Regions from separate parts of the Homo sapiens genome. Here regions 1, 2, 4 and 5 are each linked to region 3. The links are contacts of gene promoters, found by promoter capture Hi-C in blood cells and fetal thymus (Javierre and others, 2016). All regions are on one chromosome and are shown on one strand. The core of a region is centred on a gene start or on the middle of the fragment in contact, and the rest is flanking DNA. Distances in the headings are between cores, read along the strand shown.

Evidence for each region. The method cuts DNA at HindIII sites, captures the fragments that hold promoters and counts their contacts. A CHiCAGO score of 5 or more calls a contact.
Region 1: a fragment that was not itself captured here is called in contact with the fragment with the promoter of NOL8 in region 3 in 17 of 17 cell types (monocytes, erythroblasts, megakaryocytes and 14 more); the score reaches 11.5 in monocytes.
Region 2: a contact is called between a fragment that was not itself captured here and the fragment with the promoter of NOL8 in region 3, in 6 of 17 cell types (M1 macrophages, M2 macrophages, endothelial precursors and 3 more). The highest score is 11.5, in M1 macrophages.
Region 4: a contact is called between a fragment that was not itself captured here and the fragment with the promoter of NOL8 in region 3, in 2 of 17 cell types (endothelial precursors and erythroblasts). The highest score is 5.8, in endothelial precursors.
Region 5: a contact is called between a fragment that was not itself captured here and the fragment with the promoter of NOL8 in region 3, in 2 of 17 cell types (M2 macrophages and M1 macrophages). The highest score is 5.6, in M2 macrophages.

The regions. Positions count from the first base shown.
Region 1 is chr9:92,664,315-92,667,014 of GRCh38, forward strand. The region is part of intron 1 of IPPK (inositol-pentakisphosphate 2-kinase); the gene reads right to left. Among named protein-coding and RNA genes, the nearest start is that of IPPK, 4.5 kb to the right of the region's middle. The HindIII fragment of the contact is 6,089 bases long and covers 1-2,700 here.
Region 2 is chr9:92,616,482-92,619,181 of GRCh38, forward strand. CENPP (centromere protein P) reads left to right here. Exons shown (of 8, transcript NM_001012267.3): 8 at 1-2,700. All of the region lies in intron 12 of IPPK (inositol-pentakisphosphate 2-kinase), which reads right to left. LOC100128361 (a long non-coding RNA gene) reads left to right here and starts at 1,569. Exons shown (of 1, transcript NR_036505.1): 1 at 1,569-2,700. The HindIII fragment of the contact is 2,995 bases long and covers 1-2,700 here.
Region 3 is chr9:92,324,006-92,326,769 of GRCh38, forward strand. It overlaps NOL8 (nucleolar protein 8), which reads right to left and starts at 1,345. Exons shown (of 17, transcript NM_017948.6): 1 at 1,301-1,345; 2 at 18-204. The coding sequence starts at 156. CENPP (centromere protein P) reads left to right here and starts at 1,948. Exons shown (of 8, transcript NM_001012267.3): 1 at 1,948-2,100. The coding sequence starts at 1,994. RefSeq lists enhancers at 627-1,515, 1,294-1,413, 1,444-1,553. The HindIII fragment of the contact is 10,709 bases long and covers 1-2,764 here.
Region 4 is chr9:92,792,307-92,795,006 of GRCh38, forward strand. No RefSeq gene overlaps it. Among named protein-coding and RNA genes, the nearest start is that of BICD2, 29 kb to the left of the region's middle. The HindIII fragment of the contact is 8,551 bases long and covers 1-2,700 here.
Region 5 is chr9:92,695,120-92,697,897 of GRCh38, forward strand. No RefSeq gene overlaps it. Among named protein-coding and RNA genes, the nearest start is that of IPPK, 26 kb to the left of the region's middle. The HindIII fragment of the contact is 2,525 bases long and covers 134-2,658 here.

The sequences.
Region 1 (2,700 bases), core at 147-2,646, 340 kb after region 3:
ATGAAAAGTGACATCACCAAGATGCCTGTGGAGGATGGGAGCCCAGTACTCTGCAGGCAAGAGCAGGGAGGCCAGACTGGAGACAGCCTGGGGTCAGGGCGCAGTAAGTGCTGGCCCCTTGTCCAACCTGTATGGGGCATGTCCTCAAGCCTCGGCAACTCCGTCCTGACCTCATGGTGTCCTCTGCAGGACTGAAGCAGGCACAGGTGTGGGCCATGGGGGAGGTCACACACCCACACAACTCTCAGAACATGGGGAGGCCTGTGGGGATAGGCACACCTCGTGCATGGGGCTGACCCCTATAGGCATGGAAAGCCTCACTGCCTGTAAAGGGGAAGCAGGGCTGCCTAGAGGCCCACAGTGAGGGCCACAGGGAACTGTGAGCAAGTCCGGGCCCTCAGATCTCCCAACCGCTTGGCAACAAGGCAGGAGTGGCCGGGCCCTAGGCACAGCCTTGCTCTCTGCAGACACAGTAATGATGCTTTTCTCACCCTCCTGGATCGCAGCTCTCAGAAGACACAGGAAGTCACTGGGGAGCTTTGCTCTGACTGAATTCTGATGCAGAAGGAGGCTCAGTCAGGCAGAAGAAAAGTGGCTGTGTGACCTCAGAAGGTGTAAAAGTAGGAGGTGAGCCAAGGCCAAACCAACAAACCCCCGTGCACGAGAGGCACTGTCACAGGCTGCAGTCACCAAACAGCAGACCTCATCACGCAACTGCAGATACAAAGAAAGGAATAAACAAAGAGCGAGCCACAAGCACAGCTCTCCAATGAGCTCAAATGAGACAAGAAGGAACATCACCAGGAAAGAAGCCACATCAGCTGCGTCAGCCTAGAGCGCCACTAAAAATCCCAAATGCAGAATACATCACTAGTTTAAACAAAATGCTAGCAGTAACAGAAAGCTAAGACTATTTCAACTAGGTCCAGCTAAAAATTGTAAAAGGGAGCGACCAAGGGCTTGGGCACATGTTATACAGTCAGAAAAAAACAGAGAACATAAACGTATGTGCTTTCAGCATCCACAGTAGGAAGTATGGCCCAGTTAACAGTCCTGCAGGACTGCACAATGGCTTTCCACTTAACCTGTTCTAAGTGATTCTGTAATGGATATCTTTGTGTATAAGATCTTTATTTACGTTTCTAATTATCTCCTTAGAACGGACTACTAGAACAGAAATTAGTAAATCAAAGAGTATAAACTTTTTAAAAATTAATCTTTTTTCCTGAGTATCATACATATCCATTGTAGGAAATTCAGAAAATATTTAAAAAACAAAAAAAAGTAAAAGTGATTCGTGATACTATCAGTTACAGCCACTTAGAACATTTTCATCTATTTTCTTCTAATCATTTTGTAATTATAACCACATCATGCATCTTCTTTTGTAACCTGCTTTTTCTACGTAACTGTAAACACATCCTCATATAAAGGACTTAATTCATCCACTACAAAATAATCATTTAAATTATTAAAATATACAAAATCATGCTGTATGGCAAAAAAAATACATATATATATGATCTATGAACCAGAAATCTTAAAACACAAGATGAGAAGAGAAACAGTAGAAGGGCACCTGACCGCTTGAGCTTCACACCTTCAATGCCCAGACAAATATCCCAAGCACTAAACAGGTACCAAAGGGACACCAAAACTCCCCAGGCAACAAAACAATTTGCAGAAATGATCTGAAGCTCTCAGACTCTCAGAAAGGTCACGAAACTGGAACAACTGGAAGTGAGCAGCTTTGTCCACACATGTGATCAATTTAGTTGGCTGGTAAGCCAACTAAATGGCAAAGTCTTTCCTGTCACCTCTGTCAGTAAGAAGGAAAACATCATGACAGCTTAGTGTCATGACAGGAGTGGGCCACCTTCTGCCCCTGCTCCCCAAGGCTGAGGTGGTCCGGAAGGGGCTCAGTGCCCCAGACAAGTGCATGATCCAGATCTGAAGACACCTAGGAGATGGAATGACAAACCAAACCTAAAGTGACCTTCATAGGACAGGACACTGAGCCAAAACCAACAAGCTGAAGGCGAAGGAGGCAGGCGCAGGCGTCACACAGGAGAGAAATCCTGCGGCAGTGCATAAAGGGGCAACCTGTGGACTTCACTAACCTGAGATGTGGCCACTGGCCCAAGTACTGCACCTTCAGGCTGCAGCGAGGAAACTGTGCCCAGATGGGAAGTTCCCTCATCAAGGAGCCCCCACAGGGTCAGTGTCTGGAGCTCCAGACACACACCAGGGAACATGCCAGGCTGCCGAGAGCCTCTCAAGCATGCCACAGGGTCCACACCACATGAGGCAGAGAACACCATGGTTACCTGTGCCTGGGAAAGTTCAGGTGCACAACCATCCCAAACAGAGGCAGAATGCAAACTGACAGGCAAAATGAGAATCATCCTGGGCCGTCTCTGAGTGGAAGGGCCTTGGGGAAGCTGACCACCTTCTGTCAGGAACACCTTTAAACGCCTCTCTATGGCTGGCCTGCTATTTACCTTCCTGCCCACCCTGGGCACAACCTCCCACCCTCCTGTAGCCCACACCTAGTTCCTCCATCCCCAGGCCTCATTTCCTACAAGTCCTGCGCTGCACAGAAGGCTCTCTCTCATCCCATGTTTGCATACTGCAGGAAGAACATCACTGTGCTCCTTCTAGTGCTGACAGCCAATGACCATGCAGATCTCCTTACCTAGG
Region 2 (2,700 bases), core at 81-2,580, 290 kb after region 3:
CAAAAAGTAAAAAGTAGATCTGGCCATTCCAGCGCCAAATGGATGGAATGTCGACAAGCCTTCTTCTTTGCCTCTCCTGTCTGCTGAGAAACGCAAGCTCCTTTGGTTCACATTTGAAGAGATCTGGTTTCTCATTTTATTCTCAAATTTTATCTTCAGTCCTTTGTATTTTGCTTCTCAGGGCTTAGTTTTGTGGTTTTAACCTCAGAAGTCGTGTGCTTATAACAAGATGTGATTAATTATTTGCCCTGAAAAACACATTTAGGATTACTCCGAGTCCTGAGCTCTGACTGCTGTGTGTCCCGCTTTTCGTCTCCGGGCACTCAGCGCACAGCACTCAAGACACTGGCTAAACAAGTGACCTAAGCTCAGTTCAGTCCAAGAGAAGTATCCTGGGTTCTGGTGTCCCAATGTTTACTACGCTTTGAGATTTAGAAATCAACAAGCCAAACCCCAACTTCAAAAGCTCCTGCCGAGGAGAGGAAATACTGATCAGCACGTCCCTGCTCTGACGCTGCTCACCATGGCCTTGGCGCTCACTGCTGCCCTGCCCCAGAATCCTGTTTGTAGAAAAAACAAATCCCTGACTAAGCTGCTGGGGTAAGTAACTATTCTCATCTGAAGAGTAAACAGCAAATAACTCATTTACAAATTAAGGTCATGAGTCTCGCTCCAGAAGCTGGAGTGTGCCTGCAGCTCATCCCAAGGGGCCACATTTTATTGGGAGAACCTCAGAAGCCCAAGGTACTGCTCAGTTCTGAGGCCTGAGACCCAAGCTGGGTGCACCTGGGCTGGAACAGTCACATCCCCAGCCCATGACTAGGGTTACGTATTTTAAAGGACACCCCAATTTCTCAGAAGCAGCACCTGACAAGACCATGGGTGTAAAGACAGGAAGGATGTTCCAGGCAGCTCCCGGGGAGGGTCTGACTACCTGGGTCAACCACAAGCTAGCTCCATGGGAACCAATGGCAGTGACCAGCGGGCACCAGCTCCTGACACAGAAATGCTCTTCTTCCCCCTCAGTACCCCGGAGGCCAAGACTGGGCAAGAGGCCCCAGGGACACACCTGTCCCTTGTGCCACAAGTGTGCCCTCTAGCAGCCTTGGAGAATGAGGCTCAGGTGGCCTTCTGGCTGCAGGGGGGCAGCCCTTGCCTGGAAGGCCGTTCTCCAGGACACTGACCCGCTGGGGGTTACCGGGGGACCAGCAGCCTCCAAGGGTGCTGGGGATCGGGGTGGAGAAGCCAAGGCCGCACACTGTGTTTCAAATGGGAGGTCGAGAGGAGCATCAGGGTTTAGGCCGGGAAGCTGTGGCAGCTCTCTCCACAGTTCCAAATTCCCAAAGGGACAAAGCTCTGCAGCGACAGGAAGGCAGATCCAACTTGAGACATTTTCCTTTATGACAGGGCAGAAACAGTAGTGCAGAGCTGGAGAAGCCTTTATTTTAGGGGGTGTAAGAAGTTTAAATGTGGTCAATCTATCTGTGAGCTGCAAATTAGTCTAGGGATCTAAATTTAGTCTCAGGTCTACCAGGTATCTCAAGACGCCAAGATGACTCATGATAAATCCCAGCCTTAGTTTGTCCCTAGGCCTCTAGAGCACCACAGTTACTGGAACTTCACAGGTGCGGCCACTGCGCACACCTTCCTGGAAGCAGGCCCAGCCCCACACGCCATGTTCTCGGAGGAGAAGCCTTCTCTGAGATCCTCTCCTTTTGTTGAGAAAGGCCTGGCTAGAGTGCTTTGTGCAGGATGGTTCCAGTGCCTACACCCTAGGTCTGAGAAGCCACATGGCTCAGTGCCTTCAGGACATGCCCTCCCCTCCCCTCCTAGTGTCGTTTCTGCTGAGCAGCTGGTCGTAAGGACCCGGGCCTTCAGCTTTCCCCGCATGCTGGCTTTCCAATTTGACATCACTGACCAGGCACTAAGAGATTCCCAGGTGCTAGACGAGGTGAGTAACATGTCTGTCCTTCAGCGGCCTTTCACAGCCCACCTAAGGGCACCCTGCATCCAAGCACATTTCCATTGCCCAGCTGCATCCTTGGTCGGGGGGCTGCTGAACAGTGGTATCTTCGTGGGTTTTCTCTCATCGAACACCACCAGCTTAATCCAGTTAAGGAATTCCTCATAACTTAGCCCTGTAGGTATTTCCTTAGGGGATAACAGGAGTTTTCAACTAAATAGAACAACCTTTTTTCTACTTCAGTTAGCCCTATAATGTTCCTCAGTATTTCATATTGGAAAGTAAACAATTCTGTGCCTGCCAGGGAACAGGAATCCTGGGAACTGTTTAGTTCAAAAGCACCGGGAAAGTGAGTGGCTGGCAGCCAGCAACCAAGGTCATCTTGACCCAGGAACACATGTTAGAAGAATGTGGAACATTCCGCAAATACTGGGTGCAGGGTTTAGCACCCCTGAAGATCGGTGATGGAGATGCTGTCTAACGACTATGAGATTATCAGTTTCATCCCGAATTCCCAGAAACAGAGGGGACTGGACAAAACTAGTGACATTAGGGAGAGGGGCGGCACATAGGCTGGTTATTCAGAAGAGGAAGCAGAATGAATGCGCGCCTCACAGGCTTTCAAATGACTGTGGTGGTAAAAAGGCAGGTGCGCCATGCTGCCACTGTGGGAGACCGAGGAACAAGGGCCACAGGTACCCACACATCTCAGGGGCTGGCTTTCTTTGAGGGAATGC
Region 3 (2,764 bases), core at 95-2,594:
GAAGGACCATAAATTACCTTGGTCATCTTTCCGTGTGATGATCTCCACATCCGAAACTTCTCCAAATCTGCTGAACTGATTTTGTAGGTCTGCCTCAGAAATGTCCTGGCTAAGGCCACCCACATAAAGGCGCTTCGTTTCTCTGTTCACTTTCATGAAGGCTGGGCATATACTTGGGTGTGTTTCAGTGGGAAAAGTAATTTTCTGTATACAGAGAAGAGTTCTTTCCCTTAGTTCTTCTAAAATCTAACAAAACAACTACTTCCTCTGAACCTTCTGTATCAAATCCGTCTCCTGGATCTGTATTTCACTTCCTATTGTATTACTTCCAAATTTTAGTCTTCGAGGTTTTGCCCAAGCCCTACATCCACATCTTTCATGAATGCACTTTGGAACAGCAACCCCATACCCATATAGACACAGGTACAGACAGAGTTTTTTTCCTCCAAATGGCCATAATATTACACTCTATCCCTCTTAATTTTATGTATTCATGTTTTTAGATGTTTTTCCTTGACTCACTCATACATTCATTTACTGTCTTTAACAAAGTCTGACAGAAACAGGATGTAACGCACTAAAAGATAAAAAGAGCTAGCCTACCTCTTCCTAATTGTCTCCACCCCCAACCTACCCACCCCAGCCTTCTTCCTCCTAGAAGACCCAAAGAAGTGAATAGAGAGGCTAGGAGCTCCTTATAGTCACAAAAGAATAAAACAAATGGCACAATATTATGTCACAATAAAAGTGCTGCAAAGTGGGGTTCAGACACAAAGATCAAGGGATATAGCGAATACAGACTTGTGTTTTTGCTATGTGCCTGCATTGTACAAAGTAGTTTGCATGTTTCCCATTTTTCAGGAGAGCAGAAGAGGTTAAGTCACTTCCTCAATGCCATACCGAAAATTAGTGAATCCAGGATTATAATGCAGGTCTACCTTCAGAACTTGGAATTCTTAACACTATACTATGAAGGTTGCTGTATCACAGGGGACTCAGGAAAACTTTTCCAGAGGTACTAGGGCCCATCATAGTATCTCTCATTTCGTTTAGCACCCGGCAGGCGCTCAGCTCTCGCCCTTCCCTTCCCCAAGAGCTGACAGACTCTTTCCAGAAGAGACTCCCAACCAGCGTCCACCACATGGCGTGTATTCTGGGCAGAACTTCGGCCTACCTCTTCCCGATAGTCTCCGCCCCCAGCCTACCCACGGCAGCCTTCTTTCTCTGAGAAGACCCAAAGAAGTGAAGAGAGACTAGGAAACGGCCCTGTGACTTCTCATGCCCGAAACCCACTCCTCACCACGTCGTTCACCTAAAGCCAGCGCCGCTGCAGCCCCTAACTTCTGGTCACGTGTCCCAACGGAGCATCCTCTCTTCCTTCCTACTCGATTTCCAACCCAGCCTCCTAAGGTTCCGTTACCACAATTCAGTTCCCAAGAGCTTTTAATTTCCTTTTCCGTCCTCCCACCTTCCCTGACGCCTCCGTCACCTCCCCCTCAACGACTGCAAAAGAGCCTAAACCAAAATCCCCTAGTTTCTATTGAACACTATCGCTGTGTGTACCAATTCCTGGACTAGGTCGGCGTAAGAGAGGAAGTAGGTGAAAAAAATAAAGAGGCGCTCCCCTCCACGTGATCCCAGCCCTGCCTCTTTAGTGAGGCACGCGGCCGGGCGGCTCCAAGGCTGCCGGCTAGGGTGAGCAGCGGAGCGCTTGGGCTTGGAGTAGCAAAGAACGCGCTCTCCAGAGAAAGTATAGCCACTGCTTAGACAGCCAGGGAAACGTGTGCGGGGAAGTGGAGGACTCAGGCTCTCGTGCGAGAGCGGAGTTGGACGTGCAGGGCCGCTGGGGTCACGCGGAGCTCTCCCGCCTCCCCTCCGCGTGAGCTCTGGGATGGTCCGCGCCGGGAGCGCGCGCGAGGCTTGAAGCGCGGGTGAAGCGCGCAGGTCGGAGTGACAGCTGCGCTGCCGGCCCGGCTGCGGTCAGCAACGCGCCATGGACGCAGAGCTGGCAGAGGTGCGCGCCTTGCAAGCTGAGATCGCGGCCCTGCGGCGAGCGTGTGAGGACCCACCGGCGCCCTGGGAAGAGAAGTCCCGAGTCCAGTACGTGACCACCCCAAGTCCCCCAGGGCCCGCTGGCCAGGGTTCCCGGGCCAGGCGGGTGAATCTCCACAGACATCCTCGGTCTCCTACTCCCAGCCCTAGAAAGTGGGCATGAACTGGCATTGATCCTGTCATGACGATGGCCTAGAGTTGGGAGCAGCGCGTACGGCGCCCAGCTGTAAACGCATTGCAGGGTATTAACTCGTTTAATCGCAGTCGTCTGTGTGGATGACTGACAAGGAGGAAGTCTTGACTATATCCCTAGCTAGATAATTCCGCCTCCAGTATGCAGAAGTATCTCTAGTTGGGATTTAATAACTCCGTTTGGTTTCATGGCATTTGTTTTGGTAGGTCAGCTAACCATCTCAACTGATAATGACTTTGTGTTTACGATGACATAAAAATTCCTTTGAAAAATAACTTCGGTAAAAAACTAAGTTGATAAAAGAAAAGTAGTTAATATAGACTGCAGGAGAATTTGACATTCCTCTGAGGTAGGTGCTACTGTTAGCCCTGTTTTATAGTTGAAGAAACTGAGGCTCAGAGAAGTTAGGTAGCTTGTCCAAGGTTCCAGAGAAAGGAATTGTCAGAGATGGATTGGGACCCAAAAATTTTACTCCAAAGTCTGGGCACTTTTGGTTTATTGAAGGAGAGGGAGAGAAAA
Region 4 (2,700 bases), core at 134-2,633, 470 kb after region 3:
GATCCCCACTAGATAGATCCCTCCACTCTTGGGGTGATCTGGGGAAGATGGCCGGGAAGGATGCTGCTACGACTATGCAGTTCTTCACAACAGCACCTCAACTTTCTTGTCTCCTACCTGCTGAAAAGAGCCTGAGATCAGGCCCACAGCTGCAAGTGTTGGAAGCATCTGCCACTGGGTAGGTAAAGCTCACACTACCACACCTAGCTAATTTTTGTATTTTTAGTAGAGACAGGGTTTCACCATGTTGGTCAGACTGGTCTCGAACTCCTGATCTTGTGATCCGCCGGCCTTGGCCTCCCAAAGTGCTGGGATTACAGGCATGAGCCACCGCACCCGGCCAGAGGCAGGAATGATTCTTAAGTGAGAAACAGTTGTTATATCTTTTAACATTTGTGTCAGAAATCCTAAAGGTCTGATGGGATAGCTGTGCCTCCACTGCATCTGGCAAATCAGAGGTGGACAGTGAGTGCAGCTGTATCTCCTGGTGGTCAGGGCAGCCTCACAGTTCGTCTCTTTGCAGCCCTACCTTACATGACTGGAAATGGCCCTGCGGGAGGCACCTGCTGAAGTGGTATTGCTGCTGGCCATCTGGGCCTACACTGCTGGCCATCTGGGCCTACACAGTGGATGAACCTAACATCCCTTCATCCTTTCTAAAGGTGTGAAAGTTGGGTGAAAATCAATGACAAATGGAGAGAAGGAGAAATAGTAGCTGAGGGCAAAGGAATGAATAAATGGGTTATGCAATGAGAGAAACCCAACAATATATTGGTGCCTCGAGGTAAGCTCAGAGCAAGGGAATTATATTGTCTCTTAGCACAGTTATACCAGATGCCTGAAAGGGTAAACTTGTGTGTTTGTCAAACCATCCCTGTTTTAGGAATCTGACAAGGTCGAATAGCAACCTGCAAACCTAGTGACATCACTGTCAGAGACACTGTGGTCACACGACGATGACCAAGTGGAACTCTAGCATCTTTCAACTCTGACTTTTCAGGGTACATCTACAACAAAGGGTATCTTTTGGGAAGGGTTTTTTGGGAACTACTCCCTATTGGGGCATCAGACTGTGTAGTGTATGATTGCTGGTTGACTGACTCCTGTGTAACTATAAACCCAGGTGATCAGAGGCTTACAAAGTTCTCCCTGGTTATCTTGGACGACATAGAATGGTGGCCTGTCCAACATGCCACAGTGTGTTGTGCACAGACACAAACCACCCTGTTCTGTGAATGGAAAGCTCTTACACAAACCAGGAAAAACCACTGGGATGGTGATGGAACTAAAGCAGTAGGCATCACCCGGTGGGTCCAAATTCCCCAAGGGAGCAGCCCCTCCATGCACAAGTAAGACAATGGAAACCTCTATGACATATTCAGACTAAATGACAATGAGGTGTGACCACGACTTACAAAATGCAAGTATGGGGAAACCCAATACTTTTGAGTAATGAAACATGTATCCTAACTGCGCTCAGCCACGAGGACACAGTGGCAACAGCATGCATGGTGGCCTGAACACTGGCCCACCAGACAGAAAAGGGCCTTAGGGGAGACGGGTGCTGGCCTCGGCTTCATGGGATGAGCTGAATTTGCTTTTTTTTTTTTTTTTTGAGGGGGAATCTCACTCTTGTTGCCCAGGCTGGAGTGCAGTGGCGCAATCTTGGCTGTCTGCAACCTCTGCCTCCTGGGTTCAAGCTATTCTCCTGCCTCAGCCTCCCGAGTAGCTGGGATTACAGACACCCGCCATCACGCCCAGATAATTTTTGTATTTAGTAGCGATGGGGTTTCACCATGTTGGTCAGGCTGGTCTCAAACTCCTGACCTCAAATGATCCGCCCACCTTGGCCTCCCAAAGTGCTGGGATTCCAAGTGTGAGCCACCGCACCCGGCCTGAATTTGCTTTTGATGAAGAGTAGCACTCAGTGGGGAAAAATTTATTGAAAAAAATAAGCAGATTAAAGGGAGCAAGGGGTGGGAGTCAGCCTGGGAGGACAATGAGGCTTCGGTGAAGTGGGTTGGGTAACGTTGGGTAAAGCTAGCACCCAGTGTTGGGAAAGGGCTTCTCCCTAGATCCAACAGGGTTACTTGACTATTTTGTTACAGATGGAGGCCAAAGTGGCCGTGGGGCAGTGGCCCTCTGTCCTGGTTGCTGAGGCTCAAGGGGCCCACCTGTGGGAATCGTATGGGTCTCCAAACCTATGGAAGCTCTCTGAGAGCTCTTGCAACTTCGACCAATGCACTCTGCTCTGGATAACCCACATCCTGTAGTATAATCAGCAGGAAAAGGAACTAGTCTGAATACCACCTACATCCCTGTAGGAGAGAGTATGTGAGCCCTGCTATATAACAGAAGCCAGTCCTGCAATACAAGCCTGTGAACTAAGACAAGGCGACTGACTTTGAAGCCCAGGAATTACCGAGTCATGGTCAATCGTTTTTTTTTTTTTTTTGAGATGGAGTCTTGCCCTGTCTCCCAGGCTGGAGTGCAGTGGCATGATCTCCGCTCACTGCAGCCTCCACCTCCCAGGTCCAAGAGATTCTTCTGCCTTAGCCTCCCGAGTAGCTGGGACTACAGGCGCTCACCACCATGCCCGGCTAATTTTTGTATTTTTTAGTACAGATGGGGTTTCACCATATTGGCCAGGCTGGTCTTGAACTCCTGACCTCATGATCCGCCCACCTTGGCCTCCCAAAG
Region 5 (2,778 bases), core at 146-2,645, 370 kb after region 3:
TGTCGAATTTTTTCAAAAGCCTTTTCTGCATCTATTGAGATGATAATGGGGTTTTTGTTTTCAGTTCTGTTTATGTGAGAAATCACATTTATTTAATTGTATATGTTGAACCAACCTTGCATCCCAGGAATAAAGCTTACTTGGTCATAGTGGATTAGCTCTTAAATGTGCTGCTGGATTCAATTTGCTAGTGTTCTGCTGAGGATTTTTGCATCTAATTTTATCAGGGATATTAGCTTAAAGTTTTATTTTTTTCACCAGGTTTTGGTATCAGAATGATTCCGGCCTCATAGAATAAATCAGGGAGGAGGTCTGTCTCCTCAATTTTTTAGAATTGTTTCAGTAGGATTTGTACCAGCTATTCTTTACATGTCTGGTAGAATTCAGCTGTGAATCCATCTGGTCCAGGGCTTTTTCTGGTTGGTAGGTTTTTGTTGTTGTTGTTGTTGTTGTTACTATTGATTCAATTTTGGAACTTGTTATTGGTCTGTTCAAGTATTCAATTTCTTCCTGGTTCAATATTGGTAAGTTGAATGTTTACAGCAATTTATCCATTTCTTCTAGGTTTTCTAGTTTGTGTGCATAGAGATGTTCATAATACTTTCTGAGGGTTTCTTGTATTTCAGTGAGGCCAGTGGTAATGTCACCGTTGTCATTTCTGATTGTGTTTCTTTGGATCTTCTCTCTCTTTTTTTCTTTATCAGTCTAGCTAGAGGTCTATGAGTCTCATTTTTTTTTTCACCATAAACATATATCATTTTTATTTGACAATTAAAATAAGTTAATTAATTGATAATAATAATAAAATTGAGTATAGTAGCTCAGTCATTCACTCCTTGTACTTTTTGACTCTATCTTCTTCAGAGAGGACAAATTCAGCACTGTTCTTGGCTGTGAGATCAATAGCGCTCCACTGCAGGGAAGACCTATGGGTTACATGTCTGTCCACACCTGGGGTTTACTCTCTTTTTTTTTATTATACTTTAAGTTTTAGGGTACATGTGCACAACGTGCAGGTTAGTTACATATGTATACATGTGCCATGTTGGTGTGCTGCACCCATTAACTCGTTATTTAACATTAGGTATATCTCCTAATGCTATCCCTCCCCCCTCCCCCCACCCCACAACAGGCCCGGGTGTGTGATGTTCCCCTTCCTGTGTCCATGTGTTCTCATTGTTCAATTCCCACCTGTGAGTGAGAACATGCGGTGTTTGGTTTTTTGTCCTTGCGATAGTATTTCAAAGAACCAACTTTTGGTTTCATTGATCTTTTGTATGGGTTTTCACATGTCAACTTTGTTCAGTTCAGCTCTCATTTTAGTTATTTTTCTTCTGCTGGCTTTAGGGTTGGTTTGCTCTTGTTTTTCTAGTTCCTCTAAGTGTGATGTTAGGTTGTTAATTTGAGATCTTTCTGACTTTTTGATGTGGGTGCTCACAGCTATAAACTTTCCTCTTACCACTGCTTTAGCTGTGTCCCAGATATTCTGGTATGTTGCATCCTTGTTTTCAATAGTTTCAAAGAGTTTCTTGATTTCTGCTTTAATTTCATTCTTTACCCAAAGTCATTCAGGAGCCAGTGGTTTAATTTCCATATATGGTATTGAGAGATCTTCTTGTTTTTAATTTCTATTTTTATTGCACTGTGGTTGAGAGTGTGGTTGGTTTGTTTTTTTTTTAACTTGTTGAGAATTGCTTTATGGCTGAGTGTGCAGTCAATCTTAAGAGTATGTGCCATGTGTACATAAGAACAGAAAAACGTATATTCTGTTGTTGGGTGGAGCATTCTGTAGATGTCTGTCAGGTGCATTTGGTGAAGTGTTGAGTTTAGGTCCCAAATACCTTTATTAGTTTTCTGTCTCAATGTTCTGTCCAACACTGTCAGTAGGGTGTTGAAGTCCCCTACTATTATTATGTGGTTATTTAAGTCTCTTTGTAGGTCTCTAATAATTTGTTTTATGAATCTGGGTGCTCCAATTTGGGATGCATATATATTTAGGATAGTTGAATTGAACTCTTTATCATTAATGGAATGTCCTTCTTTGTCCTCTTTGAGCATTGTTGGTTTATATTTTGTCTGAAGTAAGAATAGTAACTCTTGTTCTTTTTCGTTTTCTCTTTGCTTCACAGATCTTTCTCCATTGCTTTACTTTGGGCTTATGAGTGTCATGCATATAAGATGGGTCTCTCTCTTTTTAAATTCTTTCACTATGTTGCCTAGGCTGGTCTTCAACTCTTGGGCTCAAGTGATCCTCCTGCTTTGTCCTCCTAAAGTGCTGGGATTAGAGATGTGAGCCACCACTCCTAGCCAAGAGATGGGTCTCTTGAAGACAGCATACAGTTGGGTCTTGCTTCTTTATCCAACTTGCCACTCTGTGCCTTTTAAGTGGGATGTTTTCTCATTTACATTCAAGGTTAATATTGATATGTGAGGATTTGATCCAGTCATGTTGTCAACTGGTTGTTACACAGACTTGATTGTATAGTTGCTTTATAGTGTCAGTGGACTATGTGTTTTTATGGTGGCAGGCAACAGTCTTTTGTTTTGTATTCCATATTTAGCACTCCCTTAAGGACCTCTTGTAAGGCAGTCTGGTAATAATGAATTTCCTTAGTGTTTGCTTGTGTAAAAAGGATTTTATTTATCCTTTGCTTATGAAGCTTAATTTAGCTGGATATGACATTCTTGGTTGGAATTTTGTTTCTTTAAGGATGCTGAATATATTTCCCCAATCTCTTCTTGTTTGTAAGGCTTCTGCTGAAAAGTCTACTATTAGCC